4 separate regions of the Homo sapiens genome follow, and regions 2, 3 and 4 are each linked to region 1. The links are contacts of gene promoters, found by promoter capture Hi-C in human tissues and cell types (Jung and others, 2019). All regions are on one chromosome and are shown on one strand. The core of a region is centred on a gene start or on the middle of the fragment in contact, and the rest is flanking DNA. Distances in the headings are between cores, read along the strand shown. Region 1 holds the start of FGF6 (fibroblast growth factor 6). Region 2 has its middle 25 kb from the start of FGF23. Region 3 has its middle 6.1 kb from the start of FGF23. Region 4 overlaps FERRY3 (FERRY endosomal RAB5 effector complex subunit 3).

Region 1 (5,890 bases), core at 1,992-4,491:
TGGAGTCCCACAGCCAACAGCCTAAATTCCCGGCTCTCCCGACCCTATGGGCTTCCGGGCATTATGCAGGCTGGGAAGAAGGGGTTCTTTGGGATGCCCCACCCTACAGAGGGGAAACCTGCTCCATCAAAACCTGGGTTGGTCCCAGGCCTCTTCCTGTCCTCGCCATCACTTTCCCAGAGAGCGGTAACAAGGATATGTCTCTTCTGTCTCATCTCACTCGCCCTCCAGCTTTCAGGTTCAGTGTAACATGGGGAGTGGGTGGTCCCCTGCCCTCCAGAGGCCATGTAGCCTGCTGACCCCCAAGCCTGCCTGTTCCTCAGAAACACCTGGCAAATTTAAAATACAAAAACAAATGGATTTCCAGGCCCACACGCCAGCTCTGCTGAATAAGAATCTCCTAGGTAGGTACCTGGAAATCCATACTTTTAATAAGTTTCCAAGGTGACAGAGATGCAAACTGTCCACAGACCCGTGTGGGAGACCCACTGATTGTAGTGCATGCCGTATGTCCACATAAACCAACCCAGACTGAGAGATGTTAGCACTAAAGATTATGGGGTGGAGGCCACCTGGTGAACCCGTTCTTGTATTTCATAGACCTCCTCTGTTGGGACAGCTCCCCTGGGACCCAGTGCCAGTCCTGGATCTATTTCTTCACATCCCAGTCCTCAGTTTATCCTCCAAGGGGCAGTAGATCAGCTCTCCACACCCTCCCCATAAATAACTTTGATATTTTTTGAGGCCTGCTCTGAGGTCTTCCTTTTTAGCTTGCTTATTTCTGTCAAAGGAACTCTCCATTTCTTCAGCCTCATCGGGATGTTTGCCCCGCCATATTTTGGAATAAGCCAAATGATGGGCCGAGGGCTGCAGGAAAGAGTAGGTCAGTGAGAGCAGAGGTTTTCGTCAATGTGCTTAGAAGCTGGTTGCATTAACCCAAGTGCCAGCATTGGCACTCCCAGAGGTGACCTATGGGGGTGGGGATGGGAATGGGTGGGACTGGTACCAGCCTAAAGTGTATAACGGGTAGGCTGCTTCTCTAGCGTACGTGATCGGAGACCAGAGGATTGAAAACCCTAGTGCAGAATCTCAGCACACTGATGAGGATGAAAATAGCCTCCCATTCCACTCCTCCTGCTGCGCACGAGGCTGGGGCATCTTGCAGGGCGCGTGTCATGGAGCAGCGCACCCAGGCAGAGAGACAGACTTGCTCTCGGGGCCTCGCCAGTGCAGGGAATCACACCTGCTCACAAGCCTGGATGCCAGAATGTGGGTTTCCCTCTGGCCCACGGGCTCCCTGAGCTGTGGTTTCCGTTTAAGCACACGGGCTCCGGCCGGCAGGTGGGAACAGAAGAAGCACGGGCCAGGGCAGAGGACAATCACCCGTGAGGCTGAAGAAGCACAAGCTGCAAGGCCCCTCCCTTTCACAGGCTCCTCTCACAGCCTTTCCTTTCCCATTTAGATAGTCACTTCTCTACTCAGGACTTCATATTATTTTCTTCAACTGTGTAAGCATCAAGCCTTGTAAACCTGGCACTTCCCCGGCCTGGTGAACTCACCGTTGCGTACAATCTTCCTTTACTGTTCATGGCAACGAAGAGGGCACTTCTCACTCCAAAGAGACTCACCACGCCTCGCTCCACAGTGGAAATTTCCAGCAGGCCTGACAAGGAAAGGGGGGCCACATTACCTAAGGCTTGTGCAAATCAGAGTGGGAACTTGAGCCGACAAGGGCATCTCAGTCCATCCCCCTTCTCCTAGAAAGCCAGACTCTCCATTGCCCCATCCATGATCCCTCTAACTCTAGGAGACCCTGGCTGCTGGACTCATCGAGTGCTGCCATTGTGCTGTTAGAAATCCAGTTCTGCAAGGGAAGGTTCTGATAGCAGAGTTAGGGGCTGCAGTGACCACTTAGCTATCTGTTTAAGATGAGCTTTGAATCTGGGCTTTCAGTGACATAATTACTTGAGGTCCTTGACTTGAGTAAAAAAATAAATTCTGATTCTTCTTCTTCTTCTTAATGTGTACTCTACATGTTTCAACAAATCTCAACCCACTTAATCTTGAAAACACAGCAGCCACACCATAGCTGATGGCTTTCTTGGATCCTGCAGCCCCCATCCTTTCTTGGATAGGAGACTAACCATACAGCAAGCTGGCAGCTTGCAGGCAGCTTGCAGGATAAGAACCTGGGGACAGAGGGAGCCGCTGAAATAAAAAGAAGGATGTGCTTCAGTTGGACATTTTGCAATTGAATTTCCCTTCCTTCTCCAAGAAAGAAGCTGAATAAAAATGAGCTTGTGTCAAATTTGATCCAAGTATACTAACTGATTCTCCCTACCCAGGCCTTGGGGGCTTCCCAGACTAATGGTTCCTAATGGTCTTACAAGGCATCAGATGGGCCAGTAATGCTGAAATAGTTAGTGCCACTGAGGATCTAACCAAGGCGATGGCAAAGAACACCAGGATGCTTGGACCGCAGTATATTGAGCTTGCACCCAGGCAGGGTCACGTGGAATCATCTAAGTGGTGAGCAGCATTTCTGCCCCCTTTATCGTGCATCCTGTCCGCTAGAGCAGGGCCCCTTCACCTTTTAGCCCTGCATGAGCCCAAACCCCCAAGCGTCCCGACTGGCTGCAGCTGGCACTCACTGTAGGGGTTCTCCTCGTGGGTCCCGCTGATCCGGCCGTCGGGGAGCACCTGGAGGTGAAAGCCGATGCCCACGTTGCAGTAGAGCCTCCGCTGCCGCTTGATCCCCACCAAATAGCCACTTTCCCAGTTCACCCCGGCAATCTCTCCAGCTAGCCCGGCGCGAGACCTGGACAGCAGGGTGCCCCAGCCCCTCGAGTCCAGCAGCGTGTTGTTGGCACGGGTGCCTGCAGGCGAGGGCACCACCATGCCCACTAGGATGCCTAGGAAGACGAGAGCCCACAGCGTGCCCTGCAGACGTCCTGCTCCCCGGGACATAGTGATGAACAGTTTCTGTCCCAGGGCCATCCACCTTGCCTCTCAGGCACGTGGTCAGAATTAATGGCCCTAAAAATACCGCCCTTCTTGTTTTTCTCCCTCCGGCATGGCGGCAGGGGCTTATTTTTGGAAGGCAGATGAAGGCTGCTGACATGAAACCAAAGCCTCCATCGGGCACTCGGGTTGAGAGCAGAGGGACCCAGGCTGAGCCGCGGCCGGTAGAGACCATGGCTCGGGGACGCTCTCTAGCTCGCCCGCTTGCTCCGTCCCTAGTTGATGATATTTGATTTGACCTATCTTTATAGTTGCTTCAGCAGCCCGGCCCTCCCCTCCACCCATCATCGCCCTGACGTCAACCCGCCCAGCTCACTTATCCAGGGCTGTAACATTAACCTGCTCTTGGGCCTGGCTGCCTCCCCAGACCCCCATCACCCTCCACACTCCCCAGGGGTTCTGGGAGCCACTGTCATTCCAACTATGAGGCAGGAATGAAGTGAGCAGGGAGCATCTCTGGGGGAGGGGGGAGCTGGCTGGGGGCCCAGGGAAAGAGAGAGGCGAGAGGCCACCCAGGACCCATATTGGGCAGAAGTTCTTTGCCTGGCAGCGCTGGCTTCCTTATTTAGAGGGCAATAGGTAGAGGCAGGGATGGGAAAAGGCTTGTGGTAGTGATGACCGTAGCCTCAAGTCACCCTTGAGATCTTTTCATGGAAACAGCTCATGGTGGAGGGGAACACTGAAAGGCCAAACCCTTTCAGCAGGAGGGCACAGACATTCTCAGGGGGTGGGGATGGGGGTTGTTCAAGGAGCTTTAAGATTGTGGAGGGAAGGAGGGCAAGGGCAAGGTTTGCCTGCTCACTGTCCTGGTCCCGACATTCACCTGGGGTGGAAGTTGTGTCTGGCCTTTGACACAGCCCCCTGGCCATTCTCCCTGGATTTATCCCTGGCATGTGACTGATATTATTCCCATTTCACAGATGAGGAAGTTGAGGCTTAGAGAGGATAAATGACCTGCCCGAGTTACCATAGCTAATAAGTAGCAAAGCCAGAACTTCTAAGGTGTGCCTGAGTCTAAAGCCTGTGCATGTCTAATGCTTGCAGTAGAAGTTGGCTGGCCCATAGAGTCTGTTTAGCTCCTTAAATGCCAATAGCACATCACAGAGTTATTTCAGTAGCATAAAATGATTTATTTCTTAAAAAAAACTTGAGTGTCTTTGATGTACATGAGAACTTCTATATTTGCAGATAACTTTTGCTGGGCTGATATTACACTCAGAAACTAGTAAAAATATTTCTGCCAGGAAGTTATTCCTACACTGATTTATCTTATTCCCATATTACTTTTAAATAGATTACATGTCTAACTGAAGTGAGAAAAAAAATGTAAAGCTACCAGAAAACTCACTGCACAAATTTCTATACAATATAAGACAGAACTATTAATACGTCTCTGAGGGTGAATAAGTTAACAAGGGTCGCTGGGGAATTGAATTAACTTGAGTTAAAAATCCTGTTTCTTGTACTTCAATCCAGGCCTTAATCTGTTGGTGAGACATTAGCACTGATTTTGCCGGGATTGGAGAGAGTATGTGTGGGGTGATGACAGTGGCATACAGATGGATTTGAGTGTCCTGAGCAGTAGAGCTGGTCCCAGCAGGCAGCTCCCTTAGCCACACTCTACACCCACATTGCAGGCTGCAGGCAGCCTGGAAAAGCTCCTGGGGTGAGTTCCATGGCCCAAGGACTCTACTGAGGCACCACCGCCTTCCCTCTGATTCTAAACCTTCTGCTGTGCCCTGGGTCCCAGCCTCTGGTCTGTGGCTTCTACCTGCCTTCTCTCTGCCCTTCTGCCTCGTTCACTGGGTTCGATGCTTTGGTTCAAATTTCTGTCAAGCCATGTGTTTAGTGTTGCCCTAGACATGCCTTCTGAAATCCTGTGAAGCCCAGATGTCTGTCTTTACCCTCAGCTGGTAAACTGAATGGGGAGGGACATAGGCACCACTTGTTCCTACTGTCACCACGGCCCCCTGACTTCCCCATTGGCTTCCTCTCCCTTCCACTGCCGTTGTCCCATACCCAATCTCATCATCACCAGCACTGCCATTTCCCATGAGGAAAGATGATGCCTTATAGGCTCAGATTGAGTCTACTATGTAGGCCTTTGTTGGAAAACTGTTTTTAAAAATCCTTCTGCAAAGTAAAAGGTTCATGAATAATCCGAAGACAAAGTTGTCAACAAAAAGAACTTCACTTTGGATTTCCAGCTGGGTTTCATATAGTTAAGCTTTCATGGATGCAAGAGCAGTGGGGACACTTTCTCAGTGATGTTGTTTGGAATCTTGTGTTAATTATGCTGGTGGTCCTCACTTAGGGAAGAGACAGTCCAGAAACATGTTGGATGGTAAGGAGAAGTCAGTCTGAAGTTAACACTTGCCTTGGATAATCGGAGAGGTGCTCACCAGCAGAGCTCAGAATCTCTGTGGAATTTCTTGGAACCCATCCACTTTGGGACTGCCTTAGGAGAGAGATTAAACTATAACAAGGTCCATGTCATATACCAATAAAAATGGTAACGCTCCTTAGATTCATCTCTTCCTGGATTCCTCTCTGTGCAGAGGTTCTGGTTGATGTCTCATAAAGCAATGGGCTTTGGAATGGGGACACCTGGATTTGAATCTCAACTCCACCATTTAGTAGCTGTGTGACCTTAGGAAAGTTCTGGACCTCTCTGAGCTTATTTTGTCATCTGCAAAATGATATCATTACTTCCTAAGGTTGTTACAGTGACTAGCAATAATACATACAACTGGCCAGTGCAGAGCGCAGTATAGCTATTTCCCAGAAATTTCCCTGAAACACATTGAAAATCTCTCACCCAATTAAAGAGGACAAACCCAAAGTGAGAAAGACCATCTCTCATCTCACG
Region 2 (6,395 bases), core at 497-2,996, 43 kb before region 1:
CTTTCCATGCTATTTCTTTGTATCTTATTCGTGCCTGGGCAGCTCCATGCCCACCTTCCGTTTGCTCTGGGTTTAGAGATGAGGCTGAAGAAAGCTCTGCAGAATCTATTGGATTTCTATTGGATTATTTAACTCTCCTTTCCCTTCTGAGATTTGGTAAAGTTTCTAGTGTCATGGGTTACTCTGTCTTCTGGATTTCAAGGTATAAAACCTTTTTTAAAAACCAGGGTAACACTATTGTGGTGGAGTAGATCTGGTTCAGGCCAGGTGCAGTGGCTCACACCTGTAATCCCAGTACTTTGGGAGGCCGAGGTGGGTGGATCACCTGAGGTCAGGAATTTGAGACCAGTCTGGCCAACATGGTGAAAGTCCATTTCTATCGAAAATACAAAAATTACCCAGGCATGGTGGCACACGCCTGTATTCCTAGCTACTCTGGATGCTGAGCCAGGCAGGAGAATCACTTGAACCTAGGAGGCGGAGGTTGCAGTGAGCTAAGACACACCACTGCATGCCAGCCTGGGCAACAGAACGAGACTCAGTCTCAAAAAAAAAAAAAAAAAATTATATATATATATATATATAGTTTTTTTTTCTTCACTGTTCTTCCTGTTAAGAGACAAAGGCTATCTCTGCTCCCTCAAATCTGGATTGGCCTATGACTTGTTCTGGTCGGGAGATTATGGCTTAAGTGGCATCGCCTAACTCCCAAAGCTTAGCCTCAAGAGAGATGCGGCTTCTGCTTTCTTACACTTGGAATGCTCCCTCTTGGGAGCCAGCTGTCACATAAACAGTCTAAATGGCCTGAGACCACCATGCCATGAGGAAATCCAAGCTAGCCACAGTGCCAGACATGTGACACCTTCTTGGACCTTTCAGCTACCAGCTAAATGCAAGTAAGTAAATGATCCCATCTGATGACACATGGAGCAGAAGAGCCACCCATTTGAGCACCATTTAGTCTCTTTACTCTGCTTCACAGAAGCCTTCTTTGGGATCCAATCCTCTGTCCAAAAAGTGATGCTCAGTTGCCCTGGCCCTGGAGCCTTGAGAGCTGCTTCAGGGCTGGAGCACTCATTCGCTCATGGTAGCGTCAACCTCCACTGCCTGGGGACTCTGTGGAGAACCCTCCACCTCCATCTCCAGTGAAACGGGAGCTCAAGGGCTTTCCTTTCGAGGGTCCTTGCGGTCTGAGAGGGGACAGGATGCTGTGAAGGGCCTGCCTTTATCAAGAGACGGGGACACAGGGTCCTAAGAACCAAAAAGAGAACACCTGAAAATGTATGGGGACAGCCAAGAAGCTGTGGGGAAAGAGGGGCAGCAGAGTCCAGGGGTATTGGCAGGTGCAGAAACCCCAGGGCTGGCGGACTGAGGAAAAGAGTAGAGCTCTTTCTTCACTGCCTCCCCTGAGATTCGTGGAAACAGAAACTTTCCTTTTGGAAAAGTCACTTTCTTTATGCCATTTCTATTTTTTGTCATTACTTCCTTGTTGTTTCACCTGAAGACTTAGAAAAGTTTCTTTGGGAAATGTCAGCTGCCTCACCTCTCCTGAAGAGATGTCAGGAAAAGGTTTCTCTTTGGTTGGTTTGTCAACAGGACGGGTTGCAGTGGGGAGAAAACCCCATCAAGATGGCAAACACGGATAGAAAAATAAAAGTGTAGAACTTTGATCTCCTATCCAATTAAACATGCCACTCCCACTCCCACCTGCAAGCACAGGCTGGACCCGCAGCTTGAGGGGTTGGGGTGGGTCTGCTTCTCCCATGCTGCCCGCTCAGCTCCTGGAGGCAGGGGTCTCCTTGTGTGTCTACCCCATGTAGATGGTGGCCAGGTGTCCCTGGCCCTCCTCCAGCTTTCTGTGGGCCTATGTGTTGGTAGTGGACTCCCTCTGTAGCAAGATGGTCTCCGTGGAGTGGTTGTGGTTCTTGCCATGGTGTTCAGGTTCACTCCACCATCCTGTCCCTGAGAAATCTCCTAAAAATTTCCTAGGAAAAATCAAGTATTCTTTTGGCCCAACCAGCAGCACTTGCCAGCGAGTGCTTCTCTGGTGGGATGTCCCATCTTCCAGCAGGCTGCTGTCCCACACCTCCTACTCCTCACTGACCTGTGAGCTCTCCCCCTTGAAGCCTCAGGAGCTACCAGATCCTCCTCTGGCCCCGCTCTGTGCACCTGGCCTTCCCTAAAGTGCTGGTGGCCACCACACCCTTCCTTCCCAGTTGACTTTTAGTCCACATTGATGGGAGGGGAGACCAAGAGTGGGACTGCTCTGGCTGCCTCTTTAAAGCCTTTAATGAGGGCTGGTGGTGGTGGTGGGGATATGGTTTGGCTTTGTGTCCCCCACATTTGTGGAACTTTGAACTTGAGAGAGACGACTTAGAAAGAAATTTCTAAGCAGCAAAGCATTCAAGAGGTAACTTGGGTGCTGTTAAAGGCATTTAGTTTTATAAGGGAAGCAGAGCATAAAAGTTCAGAAAATTTGCAGCCTGACAATGTGATAGAAAAGAAAAACTCATTTTCTGAGGAGAAATTCAAGCTGGCTACAGAAATTTGCATAAGTAACAAGGAGCCAAATGTTAATCCCCAGGACAATGGGGAAAAGTCTCCAGGGCATGTCAGAGGTCTCTGAAGGCAGCCCCTCCTGTCACAGGTCCAGAGGCCTAGGAGAAAAAAGTGGTTTCAAGGGCTGGGCCCAGGGTCTTTGTGCAGTGTACAGCCTAGGGACTTGGTGCCCTGCATCCCAGCCATGGCTGAAAGGATCCAACATAGAGCTTGGGCCATGGCTTTAGAGGGTGCAAGCCTCAAGCTTTAGCAGCTTCCACATGGTGTTAAGCCTGCAAGTATACAGAAGTCAAGAATTGAGGTTTGGGAACCTCTGCCTAGATTTCAGAAGATGTATTAGGAAACACCTGGGTGTCCAGGCAGAAGTTTGCTGTAGGGGGTGGCTCTCATGGAGAACCTCTGCTAGGGCAGTGTGGAAAGGAAATGTGGGGTCCCCACACAGAGTCCCCACTGGGATGCTGCCCAGTGGAGCTGTGAGAAGAGGGCCACCATTTCAGATCCCAGAATGGTACATCCACTGACAGCTTGCACCATGTGCCTGGAAAAGCTGCAGAAACACAACACCAGCTCATGAAAGCAGCCAGGAGGGAGGCTATACCCTGCAAAACCACAGGGGCAGAGCTGCCCAAGGCCATGGGAGCCCACCTCTTGCATCAGTGTGATCTGGATGTTAGACTATGGAGTCAAAGGAGATCATTTTGGAGGTTTAAGATTTCACTGCCTGGAGATCAAGACCATCCTGGCTCCACTAAAAAAATATATATATATATAAAATGAGCTGGGCATGGTGGTGGGTGCCTATAGTTCCAGCTACTCAGGAGGCTGAGGCAGAAGAATGGCATGAACCTGGGAGGCGGAGCTTGCAGTGAGCTGAGATCACACCACTGCACTCCAGCCTGGGCGACAGAGTGAGACTCTGTCTCAAAAAAAAAAAAAGATTTCACTGCCCTACTGGATTTCAGACTTGCATGGAGCCTGTATCCCCTTTGTTTTGGCCAATTTCTCCCATTCGGAACAGCTGTATTTACCTAATGCCTGTACCCCCATTGTATCTGGGAAGTAACTAACTTGCTTTTTGATTTTACAGGCTCATGAGCAGAAGGGACTCGCCTTGTCTCAGATGAGACTTTGGACTCTGGACTTTTGAGTTAATGCTGAAATGAGTTAAGACTTTGAGGGACTGTTGGGAAGGCGTGATTCGTTTTGAAATGTGAAGATATGAGATTTAGGATGGGCCAGGGGCAGAATGATATGGTTTGGCTCTGTGTCCCCACCCAAATGTCATCTTGTAGCTCCCATAATTCTCACATGTTGTGGGAGGGACCCAGTGGGAGATAATTGAATCATGGGGGTAGGTCTTTCCCATGCTGTTCTTGCGACAGTGAATAAGTCTCATGAGATCTGATGGTTCTAAAAAAAGGGGTTTTCCTTGCACAAGCTCTTTCTTTGCCTGCTGCCATCCATGTAAGATGTGACTTGCTCCTCCTTGCCTTCCACCGTGATTGTGAGGCCTCCTCAGCCACATGGAAATGTAAGTCCATTAAATCCTTTTTCCTGTATGAATTACCCAGTCTCGGGTATGTCTTTATCAGCAGCATGAAAACGGACTAATACAGGGGGTGTAAGCCCCAACTCATTAAAAGCTTTCTTTCAAGTGTGAAGGTTCTTGGAGCTCCTTGCTTGTACCTCTGGATTAGCCACAATTCAAGGACAACAGGAAAAGTCCCACCCAGCATGTACGGTATTTTAAATGAGACCATCCCAAACACTCCTCTACATTTGGTAGATGGCAGGAGATGGGCTGTAGGATGACATTGTTCCCATGGAGACACCCAGGTGCTGGGACTTCGGGACTCAGAAAGGTGGCAGCAGAATTGTTGTGGCTCTTGAGGCTCTCGTGTGATGGTCTCAGACGGAATGTGGAATAGGACAAGATCAGGAACCCCAAGGCCTAAGAGCTAATGAGCTCTGGTAGAACCGAAAGCCTGAGCTCTATAAGCTTGACTTTAAGGCACATTCTAGGTTCATTTCCTGGTAGTTCTTCATTAGTATTTAGAAAATTTATGTTTAGTGTCAGCTTATTTCAAAATACTAAAAAGAATTTAAAGCTGGTGAGGGATTTTGTTTTTTTAATAAGAGCATTTTTAATAGACCAATAGGTACACAATATTTTGGCTATGTATAATATAATATGTTGCTGTGGAGATGTCCTGTATTTCTGGTGACAACACTGGAAACACAAAAATCAAGAGGCATTGAACTGTATGGACACACTTGTGGGGACAGTGGACAGAGTATTTAAGATTGGGACTGTCCTGGAAGATCTAGAACATGTGCTCATTGTTCCTGTGGAGTGCAGCCACCTCCCTTGACCCAGTCGCTCTGCTGGGTTCTAGGCTGCCAGTACAAGGGATTTGGGAGCCAGAACAAAAACTGAATATTCAAGGTCTAATGGGAGCTTAGTCCCATTCTCAGATGGAGAAACTGAGGCCCAAAGAGAAGTGTGTTGTCTATAGTCATGTGGTTAATAAGATATTTAGATTTAATTCAGGGAAGTACACATTGACTATGCATGTCTATAAAAAACAGCCAGCTAGAAAGTGAAGGTAATTTACCCAGTCACTCAGATGTTTGGCCCACAAGATGTCCAACAAGTGTCTTCAGACATTTTTTTGTTGTTGTTTTGCACTAGTTTTTTTTTTTTTTTTTTTTTTGAGATGAAGTTTCACTCTTGTTTGCCCAGGCTGGAGTGCAATGGCACAATTTTGGCTCACTGCAACTTCCACCTCTTGGGCTCAAGTAATTCTCCTGCCTCAGCCTCCCAAGTAGCTGGGATTACAGGTGCCCGCCACCACATCCGGCTAATTTTTTATATTTTAAGTAGAGACGGGCTTTCACCATGTTGGCCAGGCTGGTCTCGAACTCCTGACCTTCAGGTGATCCACCCACCTTGGCCTCCCAAAGTGCTGGGATTACAGGCATGAACCACCATGCCCTGCCTGTTTTGCACTAGTTTTTAATGGTTGTCATTATCTCTGGGTGTGAGAGTATTTTACAATTTACAAAACACTTTCCTATCTATAGTCTTCATCCTCTTAATATTTGTGCATCGTGGTGTATCAGGAATGCATTTGGCTGCAATTATCAGGAAACCCAACAACAATGGCTCAAACACAGAGGGGGCTATTTTTCTCACATAACAATAAATTCATAGATAGGTGTTTGTTGGTGATGGTTTAGTGGCTGACATCACTGTGATTCTTTACCCCGTGGTTGAAAGATGGCTGCTCTAGCACCAGGCATCATATTCATTTTTCAAGTCAGGAATAAAAGAGAGGACACAGGTTGCTTCCCACAGCCCTGAGAATTCTTCTCATTGGTCAGAAGTGTGTCACGGGCCCACCTCTGGCTACAGAGAAGCTAAGTAAGTGACTTTTACCTGGAGTTGGACACATTGCGGGCCCAAGCATAACTGAGTTCCATCAGCAAGGCAACCAACAGTGCCTGCCATAGGTGGGCCTCAGCTGCTCCTTCTCCCCTGCCTGGTCAGCAGGGATGTTTGGCTTTGCTGCATTTTCATTCCCTTTTTCTGCACGAACCTATTTATATAATAACCTTCATTCCTCCTGTGATTACAGAGGAAGAAAATGCTCATTGTAAAGCCCTAGAAATTTCAGGAAAAAATAGAGAGCAAATCATCTATAATCTTATACCTAAAGATAATGACAAATGTTAGCATTTTAGAGTATTTCCTTCCTGAAATTTTCCCACACATATATAAATGATATTACATTATATGTTTGTGATTGTATCATGCTTTTTTACTCAATAGTATA
Region 3 (5,988 bases), core at 1,005-3,504, 61 kb before region 1:
CTTATTTTTAAGGAGGATGGGAGGAGAAGCAGCATTTCCCACTTAGAGAGAGTAAAGGAAGGCGCAAGAATCTCAGATTAATTCTCCCCATTTGAGATAGGGAAACACTGAGAGCGGAGATGAAGATTTGCCCATTGGAACACGGAGACAGCAGAATGTCCAGCTCCAGGCTGAACTCCCTACCAGTGGCTTCCAAATCTGGCTGCTCACTGGAATTACCTGTGGAGCTTTAAAGCCATAATTGCCCCAGGACTAATCTTAGACCTACTGAATCTGCAGGGGCAAAAGTCAGTTATTTGTACTTTATTCAAAGCCACCTGGGAGATTCTAATTCTCCACACCAGATGTGGCTGATACTAAAGTACTTATCAATAAACAGGCTTTGAGCGCCAACCACACATCAAGCACTGGAAATAGTACACAGAGACTAAGGCCCTCTTCAGTGGCAGGCTCAACTTTCCGTTCCCTTCTAGGATGTCCATCCTAACTGCAGGTCAAGATGTAAATGGGCCTTTCTAGGGAATTTAGTACTGAATGCTAAATCAGTACCTCGTGCTGACAAGTACCCTGTCCTTGAGTCCAGTGCATGGTCTCCTCTGAAGCTTCAGTGGGTAAGAGAAGGGAGAGGCCAGGACATGTCGGTTCCTGTCCTTTGCACCTAGAGGGCACTCCTCCGTCACAGTTCAGGTCCAAGGGTCTGGGAACCAGTGTGACCTTAGGAGCCCAAAGAGAAACACAGATAGATACCAGCTGTGAACAGGAAGCCCAGGGAGGAGGCCCTGGGTTTGTGCTGTTTGGACGTCACTGTCCTTGGTTCCCAGGTAGCTACCTGAATGCAGCAGATAGGCTGGTCCCATGGCAGGCAGGGAAACCTGTTGTCTCCAGCCTGGTTTGGAACCCACTTCTCTGGCATTAAGAGAATTTGCCCCGGGAGCTGTGTGGAAGCATCAAGTCTAGTCCCTGCATTTACGCTCATAGAATCAAGGCTCTTAGTATAGATAAGGGCCTATAAGAATCTGTATTCCGGCTGGGCGCAGTGGCTCATGCCTGTAATCCCAGCACTTTGGGAGGCTGAGGCGGGCAGATCACCTGAGGTCAGGAATTTGAGATCAGCCTGGGCAACATGGTGAAACCCTGTCTCTACAAAAATACAAAAATTAGCCGAGCATGAGTGCGTGCCTCTCGAGCGTGCTGCTCGAGAGGCTGAGGCAGGAGAATTGCTCGAACCTGGGAGGCAGAGGTTGCAGTGAGCTGAGATTGCACCACTGCACTCCATCCTGGGTGACAGAATAAGACCCTGTCAAAAAAAAAAAAAAAAGTATTCCTGCAAGTTCATTACTTTCCTTCATCTCCTGACTTCTTTTTATCAGCATCTGCTCTGAGAAGGTACTGAAGAAGATTCTCACCCAGATCATGTTCACTCAAAGTAAAGACTGGGCAATAATTTTCAAACAATAACATCAACTTCATTGTCCTTAGCTATGATGAAAAAATGTCAGAGGAATCAAGGTAAAAAAAAAAGCTGGGAGATAGGAGAGAAGGTGATCTCACGGTGGCTTGCAGCCTTCTTTTCTTTTTGAGATCCTGGAAGGACCTGGCAGGCCTCTGCTCCCTGTCCCTTCACTCCTCCTGAGTCTGTCTCCACCATTTCAGTAACGGTGTCCCTGCCCTCTTGCTTTCTCAGAGCATTACATGTCGTCCAGACCTCCAGCGTTCAGGGAGATGGATATCTAAGCCATCTAGAACAAAAATTTTTTTTTTTTGGCTTCTTGAAGTTCTCTGGAGAGGTGCCATTCCTGTATCTCATCTGAAAATGTCATCCCAGTGTCATCTTGACAGCAAAAATGTGCTTCCCTATAGCCAATCTGATTCTCTCTTGCTTTAATGCATCCAAGCAATCAACACATAACTTTTTATGGAAAGCCTGTTATATGGCTACTACCTTGTAGAAAATCTTTAGAGAAGTCTGAGAATGAAAAGGTACAGTCCTGATCTTCAGGGAATTTGCAATCTACTAGGCAGAATATTCTTTGTATTTGTCTAGCACTTCACAGCCCATAAAGTACACTCATATCTATTGTCTCTTCTGAGGCTCAAAACAGTCCTATGGGCAGGTCTGGGGGGTGTCGGGGACGACTTTCCCAAGAGCATCCTGGCTCCTGATACACACATTCTGTTATCGTAGGAATTTAAAGAAAAGAGAGAAAAAAAACATGACTTTAAAAAATCTGTTTTTATTAAAAAGTAGATCAATGCAGAAATGTATGAAGTAGAAAGTGAATATACAATATAGTTTGTAACCTCTAGAGGTAAAATGTTATCAAAGACAAATTATAGCTTTAGGGCATATATATAAAATATATATTATATTTAATATAATAAAATACATTAATATATTGCCAATAATACATGTTAATAAAATATATAATGTATTAATAAATATTTAATAAAATATGTATATATTTATATTTATGTATTTCTAAATAGGTACATATTTAACATTATATATTAATACTAAAGTGTATATTATATATAAGTATATATATTTAAATATGCACTTTTATTTTAAAATTTAAAAAAAATTTTGCATCTATCAGCCAGAAAAATACGCACTTTTAAAAGACAAAATTGAGGGCATACCGTATATAATATATACCCACTTTGTCCGCTGAAGTCTATTTTGACCACCTTTCCAGGTCAGTATGCATATCTTTACCTCATTCTTTTAAATTATTCCATTCCATTGTATTTGAAAGTGGTCAGCTCTTCTGAAAGCTTCATTTCCTTCCAAGCTCTGCCCCAGAGGCTTTTGTGGTGGTTCCCAAGGCCACAGGACTTTATGTTTACATGTATGTGTATATACACATACACACCCATTATATACATGTGCATACATACATATAAACAGATACATACACACATATACATATAATAATGGCCCTGCATGGGATGGCACTGGTGGCTGGGGTTACCGCAGTTCTCTGCCACATCAAGAACTTACCCCCTTTTAGTCTAGAACCAATACCTCCCATAGAATCAGTCTCCAGTTCCCTTCTTTCCCTCCAAATGACATGTTCAATTTCTCCTCCCCAAGACAAAATTTCCAGCTTATTTTTGTCATGGCAGCCTTTCCAAAATAAAGGCCCACGGGAGGGCTTGTCTTCAGGGCAGCCTTCTCCAATGGGCAAGGAAGCCTGGAATTCCAGCAGCGGGGGGACATCAAGGCTTGGAAAGGGGTTTGAATCCACAGAAGATGTAGCGGTGCTTCTCCACGGTTCAGCTGTGATAGTTTTCACTTCTGCCACTATGGCCAATAAATCTCCACACTTGCAGTGATCTCATAAAGACCACACTTGTTAATTTATAAATATGGCCACTGATAGCTGGTAATGACTGCTGATGACAAGGTGACAAGGATGGGCATAGAAGTGCTATTTACCGAAGCCTTTGGAAAATAAGCTACGATTTTCAAACGTGTAATATAAAATTTGCAACCTATTTTGAACTTAATACAGAGCATAAAGTTTTTATAAGAATAGGAAATGTTTGAGGGTATTTAAATATGCATATCTGAGTGTTTATTTATTTAGAAGTTTAAAGTCGTTCAAAAGTATAAAACAGCTATGCTGAGTATCAGAATTCTGAAGAACATTAGAAGAGAGAGGGTAACTGAAAAGAAACTGATGCAAAAACCATGCAAAAAGAATGGCTGCATAAAAAAGAATGAATTCATGTCCGTTGCAGCATCATGGATGCAGCTGGAGGCCATTATCCTAAGCAAACTAATGCAGAAACAGAAAACCAAAGACCACATGTTCTCACTTATAAGTGGGAGCTAGACATTGGGTATGCATGGACATAGAGATGGGAACAACAGACACTGGGAACTACTAGTAGGGGAGGGTAGGAGGGAGGAAAGGCCTGAAAAACTACCTATTGAGTACTATGCTCACTACGTGGGTGATGGGTTTAATCATTCCCCAGACCTCAGCATCACATAATATGACCTTGTAACAAACTTGCACACGAACCCCCGATTCTAAAATAAAAGTTGAAAAAAAAGTTGGGGGGAATGCCTGGAAACCAGCAGAAACAGAGAAACCAAAGGGCTAATCAACAGCAGGTGCAGATGAGAGAAGCCAGCCAGGAGCTAATTACGTTAGCCAATGACATAATTACAGGCAAGAGCATCACTGGCAAGTGCTGTGCACAGTGAGTGTGGCCCTGTAAGATGTTAGGGGCTGTAGCTGAATACAGCTGATACACTATAGGCTGTCATTCATGGGTAGTTAGTTGTCACTTCGTCCACTGCCTGAGACAGCTGCACAACAGGAGAACTGAGCACAGGGAGGGCACACAAAGTCAAGGACTGGGGCACAGGGATGTTTGGAGCAGTGGCACGCTTCTGTACGATGCTGTGGGTACATGGCACTATGCATTTGTCAAAACCCGTAGAACTGTACGACACAAAGAGTAGACCCTAATGCAAACGGTGGACGTTAGTTAATAATAATGCTTCAATAGTGTTTCATCAGTGATAACAAATGCACCACACTGATGCAAGATGTTAATAGGGGAAATTGTGTGCAGAGTAGGGAGAAGGAATATATGGGACCTCACACTTTCTGCTTAACTTTTCTTTTTTTTTTTTTGTATTTTATTTATCTTTTTTTTATTTTATTTATTTATTTATTTTTTATTATTATACTTTAAGTTTTAGGGTACATGTGCACATTGTGCAGGTTAGTTACATATGTATACATGTGCCATGCTGGTGCGCTGCACCCACTAACTCGTCATCTAGCATTAGGTATATCTCCCAATGCTTACCTTTTCTGTAAACCAGTAACTGCTCTGAAAAATAAAGTCTATCAAAAAAATGAGAGCAAAATTCAGCAAAATGGTGAGCAAAATGAGCAAAATGGTGTTTGATCAATAGGTGTTCAACATTTCATCGCTGCCTGGAATTATTCATTCCAGGATCAGATCCGTGAGATGTGCTGAAACAGCATATATTTCACTGTGCACAGCCAGTTACCTTTCAGTCCTTTAAAACAAGACAAAAGAAAATTTCTCACCCATCCATGTCACGTGGGTTAGCTCCTCCACATGATCTACCCGCCTCAGCCTCCCAGAGTGCTGGGATTACAGGTGTGTGCCACCGCACCCTTTTAATTAATTGATTTTATATAATTAAAACTAATGGAAAAATTAAAAATAAGTCATTAAAAGTAATGGCAAAAAGTTTTTTTTTTTTAGATCTGTATATGCAGCCTTAGGCAAGTGACTCCCTCTTGCACTTGCTCTCCCAGCTTTGAATTGGGGAGGTGGGACATGTGGATGAAATCATCTGTGAAGCTCCTCTCAGCTGCTGCAGTCTGGAGGTAGGATGCTGTCTCATCATCCAGCTTCCCCAAACTGTTTGCTTTATCACCTGCTACACTTGATCATCTACACGGGAGTTACCCACCTTGTCCATGATGACTGGAAGTGTTTACATTCCCTGCTGGGAGATTTGTTTCTCTCTCTCTGCTTTGCTTAAAATGTCCACACTGGATTAGGGATAAACTTAAGGAAGGCATATTCCTTTAATCTAATATATATTATTAGATTATATATTTTTATAATGTAACATTACAGGTACCTATAATAGCGCAACAGATTTCCTCAATAGCAAATCTAAATATGTAAGTAGAACCTTCACCCTACTTCCCTATAGGAAATACACATGGCTTCTGTAATATTATGAAATCCATGGTCTTGCTCTCTCAACTTTGGTGCCCATAACCAGAAGCTCATTTTGCCAGGACAAAAAGAGGTTAAAGCACCTCAGGTGCCCTCAGCTGGGGAATCCTAGAAAACTGAAGGTTATAGCAGAACTTGAGAGCAAAGGCCATTGAAGTCCAGGCCATTGATCAATAGCTGCAGCCTCAACTCCCTTTTCCTTCCCTCTCAACCCCTCACCCCCTCACCCCCTCCTCTTTTCCG
Region 4 (6,359 bases), core at 1,714-4,213, 40 kb after region 1:
CAGTTCTTCTCCTCATCCTGTGTTCATGCTCTTTTCAATGTGACTTTTTAGCACTTCTCATCAAAATAAGGAGTCTATTACCCCACCTCTTGAGTCTGGGATGGCTGTGTGACCAGATTTAATCGACGACAGAATGTAGTGGAAGTGATGGTGTGTCAATCCTCTTTTCCAGCTCTACTACCACTATGTAAACACGTCTGGGCTAGCCTCACGGAGGATGGCTCACAGTGAAGAAAAGTCCAGCTGTGCCAGCAGAGGTCATTTATACCAGCCTACAGCCAGCCAACCCCCAAACATGTGACAACGCCTAGCCCAGATAATCAGAGTGGCCTACTCGACCCACCACTGACCAAAGACTCAAAAATGAGCCCAGGCGAGACCAGAACTGCTGAGGTGACCACCCGTAGAATCATAAAGAATAAATGCTTATTGTTTCAGCCACTAAGTTTTGGAGTGGTTTGTTCCTCAGAAGTAGCTGATACAAGGAGAGGCTAAAGCTACAGGAGCAAAAGAGAACCTGCATCTGTGATCTTTTATGTGATAAAAAAGACAGCCCTAAAGCAAAGGTGGCAAAATTTTAAGCTTGAACAAAAACAAGTAGTAGGTACATGGTTATTTGTTATAATTTCTCTAACTTCTTTTTATCTTTGAAGTATTTCACGATAAAAGGAAATTCAGATAGCAGAGTCAATGTGCTACACTAGCCAAGACAGCCAAGATGATTTTTAAAAAGAAAAAGTATTTATCCTAGTGCCCCTCCCCCATCCCCATCACCACACACATAAAGTAGACTAAGTAGATTAGTGATTTCTGAGTTCTGATCCTCTTCTCTCATCCCAGGACATCTCCTCTACACCTTCCTAGCATCTAATCCTCTTGCCTCAGTTGCTCATCTGCAAGACAGCAAACACATGATCAGCTTGCTGACAAGAGAGTCCTAAGAGTTGAACCAGGAAAGCATTACAGGGGCAAGTTGTTCATTCAGCTGCTATGTGGGTAGGAGACTTTAAATTCCATAAGTACTTCATACTATTGTTATTTCTAAAATCTAGATTCACTTCATATAAAAAATATGATAGTCCTTCCTGCTCTACTCAAATACAGGGTTAGTCACCTACCCTGTGACTTCCTCCTGACATTCAGATCCTTTGTATCTGAAGTTGTTGCCATTGCTGGCACAGGTGGCATTCTTCCCATCTGCCAGGAGGATTTGTGCTTCACCTGTTGAGAATAATGAGGGTTCAGAGGATACTCACTCAGTGCCAGAGAAAGGCAGGGATAAGCAGTCTGCTTTCAAGAGGCTCAACATCTCTCTTGGCCCAACGTATGCTAATGTTTCTATTTTGACTTCCATAGCACTCTGTGTATGCTTTTTTCTGCACTGACTGTATACCTCTAGTATATGCTAGCTGGTACTGTGGTTACTGTGTGTTTTCCTACCAACTCAATTGGGCTGTAAGCTTCTTGAGGACACGGTGTCTTAAGTGACTTAGCATCCCTTCTATCTAGTGAAAGGAAGAAAGGGAAGAAGGAGAAAGGTCAGACAGGAAGAAAGGAAGGAGGAGACAGGAAGGAATGAAGGAAGGAAGGATAATAGCAGCAAATATTTATAGGATGACTATATGCCAGGTAATGTGCCCTTCTTATGCAATCCTTCCAACCACTCAATGAGGTAGATACTATTATTAATTTTCCCTAGCTTACAGATGAGGAAACATGCTTAACGGGATTAGGTAATATGCCCGATGTAACAAGCCACAGCAAATAAACTGAGGAGTCAGCATTTGAATCAGGCTTAACTTTAGAGACTATGTTCCTGATCTCTGATGTTATATTGTTGCTCAGAGTAGAGACTTTTGAGCACAGATGAGCTGATACCAGGAAATGAGAATTTATTATAAAGAAAGAAAAGGAGAGAAGGCTAGGGAGAAAGGAGGAGACATGCATCAGTACATTCTCCTCCTGCAGATGTCACACCTAACGTATGACAGATGACAGTACAGTTTCTGCTTAATTCCTGAACATGTCAAGAAAGGATCTGTTTGCTTCTTTGGTAACGTGTTCCAGGTTTCATTCTCTATGCACCAAAAATATCTACGAATAGCTCTTGCACCCTCTTGCCGGTGAGAGAAGACACATACAGTCGACTCTCACAGTTCACAGTAGTTATGTTCGATAAAGATGCTGTGAACCCTGAATTAGTGAATACTAAATCATTGCTCCCAAGGGAGACAGAGAGTTAAATTCCTGCAAGGCTCTGACCACAACAGTCTCATCAGCCCATCAAGATATAATCTTGTTTTATGTGTGCTACTGTTGAAAGACACCTTATTTAATACCCATCACTGATTCATTATCATTGAACTTTTGACCAACAGCACTACATTGCCTACCTGGACAGAGCTTATCTAGACATGCGTTGTCTTCATCAGGGACATCACAACCTTCTTGCACTTGGGAACACCAGATAGCACTTGAGCACTACACTTGGACCATTTTGAACAACAAAATCACCACAAAGCAATGGAAAAAAAAACATGGTGCTAAACAGACCCATGAAAGGGACATTTATTTGCACTATGAAAGCTAAAATAAGGCAGCAGAGCATCACCTTGCTCCATCTGAGCTGGGAACATATGTGTTGGGCGACTCAAACATTTTGGTGCTCTGAACATGTCCACAGATAACCTGAAAGTGCTGCCAAAGGCCCTGCTTTTTATTCTATTGGCCAGTTACAACATCTACGTGACTTTGGGGTGATGAATCTATTGTCTTTGTAAATGACTGTATGCTTTTGTAAATGTCTTTAACAATTTCGGAGTTACAAATAAATTTTAGTGAATAGGTGATTGCATAAATATGGTATCTTCAACTAATGAGGATTGACTGTATATAGTATGAAGTTCAGCCAGCCTTAGATTTGGATATATGAGAAAGCCTCATATGTCTTCGATTTGGACATATCCAGAACCATTTTCCTGTAGGAAAACAGGAAATGAACCGCAAGAGAGAACTGAAGTATATGGTAATTTTATCTGTGTATATTTAAATAGGACATTATAAGCACATATTGGTCCTGCAGGCACCTCAGGAGGTTACTCCTCCTTTCCCCTGCTTTAGCTGAAATTTTATTTTAGTTATTAGAGATCATCAGCATCACAGATTACAGAAAAGCCCGCCAAGTCTTCTGTCTTTACAAGTCCCATTGCCTTTGTATAACCTTCTAGGGGCTGAATCTTGCTTGCACTATGCCTTTGTGTATAGAAGAAACTCAGTAAACACTGGCTGTTTATTGAACGAGATTCTCAGGGTCAATCTGCTATTTATGTTTTCTTGATCTCTGCCGTCCCTTTGTAACATATTCTCATGTAAATATTTCTGCCCAAGGTTGTGGTTCCCAGCTTGGGGTTCCTGGAATTAGTGATCCTTTAAGATATTGAGCTATAAAGAATCTCTCAAAAAATACATTTCACTTGGATGATGTCCCACAGGTTAAGTCAAACACCAAGGCTTTGTTTTTGCAAGTTTGCCTGGAATTACACAATGATAATTCTATGCATTTTATGTGGTAATACTAGGCATGAGAATGCACAGTGATAATTGTAGGTGATAATACTATGTACCATTTGCTAATCAGAAGCTTCTCTCCAGACATACCTGTCTTTGATTTAGTAAAAAAGATTGCTCAAATAATTCCAATTGTTTATGTTCTCAAAACATTTCGGGCAAAGATGTGATGGATAATGAAAGATTCTTGAACAAAGGATAGAAAATCACTGATTTAAAAGGTCCTGAAAACATGGTACTTTTTCCAAATAGGTGTTGTATTCTTTTTGCTTCACATTTATGATTTTTATACTTCTATTACTCCTACTGAGCAAATCAGTCCCACTTCATATAAATGGAAAAACTTAAGTCACAGAAAAGCAGCCATTTTCACCTAGAAACTGAAAAATAGAAAATAAAAAGAAACTGAAAAATAGGCCTGAGGCTCGTCTCTAACTTTAGTGGGTTCTTTCTACAGTTCTGTGAATTCTCCCTTAGAGCCTCTAGAAAAGAAATGTTTCTGTGATTTCATCTTTCTTTTGTGAAACATGTTTTCTTCTTGTGAGAATTAGCCAGGATCCAACTGAAGTAACACAAATGATGGTGTGTACTGTGCCAATAAGAGATCTGCCAACTCCCAGGCAAGCTCAGTTTCTTCCCGCTGAAATTCTTTTTCATGCATTTCTTCCATTCTGGTCACACTGTCATGCTGAGAAACAGCTGGTGCCACACTTCTAGATCAATGGCTTTGCTTGTGTGGTGCTTCGAGAGCAGAAATGGGGGAAGGGGGGGAAAGAGCAGCACAGAATGGAGACCTCAGGTTCAGTGCCTCTGCCTGATTTCCAAAGCACACTCTTAAGGCCTTGAGGGCCATTTAGGAATATGTAACTGTTTATACAAATAGAAAACTTCTAACTCACAATCCTCACCAATGTCAATGTTTGTGCTAATCTCCCCATCCTCAAAGACTCTCGTGGTCAGCTCCTCTCAACTTACTGGCCATTTACCACTGCCTCCATTCTGCTTCTGCTCCTATCTGCGCCTTACTCAGTTGTCCCTTGGTATCTGCAGGAGACTGGTTCCAGACCCCCTGCCAATATCAATATCCCTGGATGCTCCAGTCTCATATAAAGTGGTGTAGTAATTGCATACAACCTACACACAGCCTCCCATATACTTAATCCGTCTATACATTACTTATACCAAATACAATGTAAATGCCATGTAAACAGATGTTATATTGTATTTTTAAAATTTTTATTGTATTTTTTTTCAGAATATTTTCCATCCACAGTTGGTTGAACAGAGTGCCATCTGTACCTAGAATGCTGTCTCAGCCCAAGGTACCTTCTTCACATCATTCATGAAGTGCTTTAAACCACTCCCCCTCAAGAAGCCCTTTAGAACACTCAGAAAAAGATCCTCATCTCATAATTCTTGGTCCAAATACAAAACTCCAGACTCCTCAATTACTGCATCACTAAAATTCCCACCATTTCAGTGCATATAATTAGCTTTTTAAGTTATATATTTATTATTAGCTTGGTGTTTGTGTGTTTCCATCAGTGGTAACACCATAAACATGATTCTTCCAATTTTACTACTTCTGTAACACAGTTGCATGTGGAAAACGGACATTCGATAAATTTATCCTGACTTCACATGCCAAATAGTACCTTTACACAGCCCTCAGTTAAAGCCACCAGTTTATAAGTAACTTAGTGGAATAGCCTAGAGGTGACAAAGGAAGAGTTGGGCAGCAGCATTCAACAAACATCCGTGAATGAAACTTTGCTCCTCCATTCCGATATCTGGGCTGCACTGATCTACCACTCTCCTGGTTTCTGCCTCTGTCTTCCCTGCTTTGCATTAGAATCAGTCTCAGTGATTAACAGTGGTGCCTGAAAGACAATTTCTCCAAGAGAACTGTATAGGCTCTAAGGGCAAAACACCTGCCTTCTTGGCAGAATCGCCAGGCTCCCTGACAAATAATTTGGAGAGTTTTAGTGTCTAATGGACATACTGCTGGAGTGGGTGTTCTTAGGGTTGTCTTTAGTGTTGTTACCTGGACAAACCTTTCCCTCGAGTAGAAAATTAAGACACATTCTGTTATAGGAAAGCACTCTGCTTGCCAACAGTTTCTATAATAGTTATTACACTGAGGCATATTAATGAAGGGCGTTTTGTTTCTTGTCATCAAGACATGCCATCTTATGACACCAAATGCCCTCCATTTCATTCTTGTGGCCAGTTACAATATCCACATAACTTGGAATTGATGAAACTATTGCTTTTCTAAACACCTGTGTGCTTTTGTAAATGCCTTTGTTTAATGGAGTTACTACTTATAGCATTTAAATATGTTATAGATGGGACAAATATATGATATGTAGCACCTGAGAAAGTAGTACCATAAGGAAAAACAATGGAAAAGGAGGGGAAACAGAGAAGCAGAAATGGGGATACATTTATCCGCAAAAAAATGCAAGAGGTAGAGGAATGGTTAAGCAAGCTGAGAACGCAGGGAGGACAGAAATGTAGAAATGATCTTCCTTGTGTGATTGTCACAATGTTGATGAGCACTAAAATACTGCCAGGTGCTGGTTTAGACTAACTTGACATCAAGCTTGCAAAAAAGAACACTATTTCCCAGTCCATGAAATGTTATTAATATGCAAGTGCAAGGGCACAGCGGGAGGATGAGAGAGAGGGAAAAAATCCAAAACGTCTTCTGACTCTAACTTGTACATCCTTAGGAGTAGATTAAAAAGAGATTCTGAAACAGGAGAATTTAAAAGAACAAGCACATTTGT

Evidence for each region. The method cuts DNA at HindIII sites, captures the fragments that hold promoters and counts their contacts. A contact is called where the count stands out against the background at its distance.
Region 2: a contact is called between a fragment that was not itself captured here and the fragment with the promoter of FGF6 in region 1, in 1 of the 25 tissues and cell types used here (spleen).
Region 3: a fragment that was not itself captured here is called in contact with the fragment with the promoter of FGF6 in region 1 in 5 of the 25 tissues and cell types used here (H1 embryonic stem cells, bladder, heart right ventricle and 2 more).
Region 4: a fragment that was not itself captured here is called in contact with the fragment with the promoter of FGF6 in region 1 in 3 of the 25 tissues and cell types used here (lymphoblastoid cells, mesendoderm cells and neural progenitor cells).

What each region holds. Positions count from the first base shown.
Region 1 is chr12:4,442,574-4,448,463 of GRCh38, forward strand. FGF6 (fibroblast growth factor 6) reads right to left here and starts at 3,242. Exons shown (of 3, transcript NM_020996.3): 1 at 2,652-3,242; 2 at 1,560-1,663. The coding sequence starts at 2,997. The HindIII fragment of the contact is 16,147 bases long and covers 1-5,890 here.
Region 2 is chr12:4,401,394-4,407,788 of GRCh38, forward strand. No RefSeq gene overlaps it. Among named protein-coding and RNA genes, the nearest start is that of FGF23, 25 kb to the left of the region's middle. The HindIII fragment of the contact is 3,512 bases long and covers 1-3,502 here.
Region 3 is chr12:4,382,804-4,388,791 of GRCh38, forward strand. No RefSeq gene overlaps it. Among named protein-coding and RNA genes, the nearest start is that of FGF23, 6.1 kb to the left of the region's middle. RefSeq lists a silencer at 5,280-5,574. The HindIII fragment of the contact is 5,845 bases long and covers 1-5,177 here.
Region 4 is chr12:4,482,949-4,489,307 of GRCh38, forward strand. FERRY3 (FERRY endosomal RAB5 effector complex subunit 3) reads right to left here. Exons shown (of 14, transcript NM_020374.4): 14 at 4,787-6,359. Among named protein-coding and RNA genes, the nearest start is that of FGF6, 40 kb to the left of the region's middle. RefSeq lists an enhancer at 3,195-3,489. The HindIII fragment of the contact is 3,885 bases long and covers 1,022-4,906 here.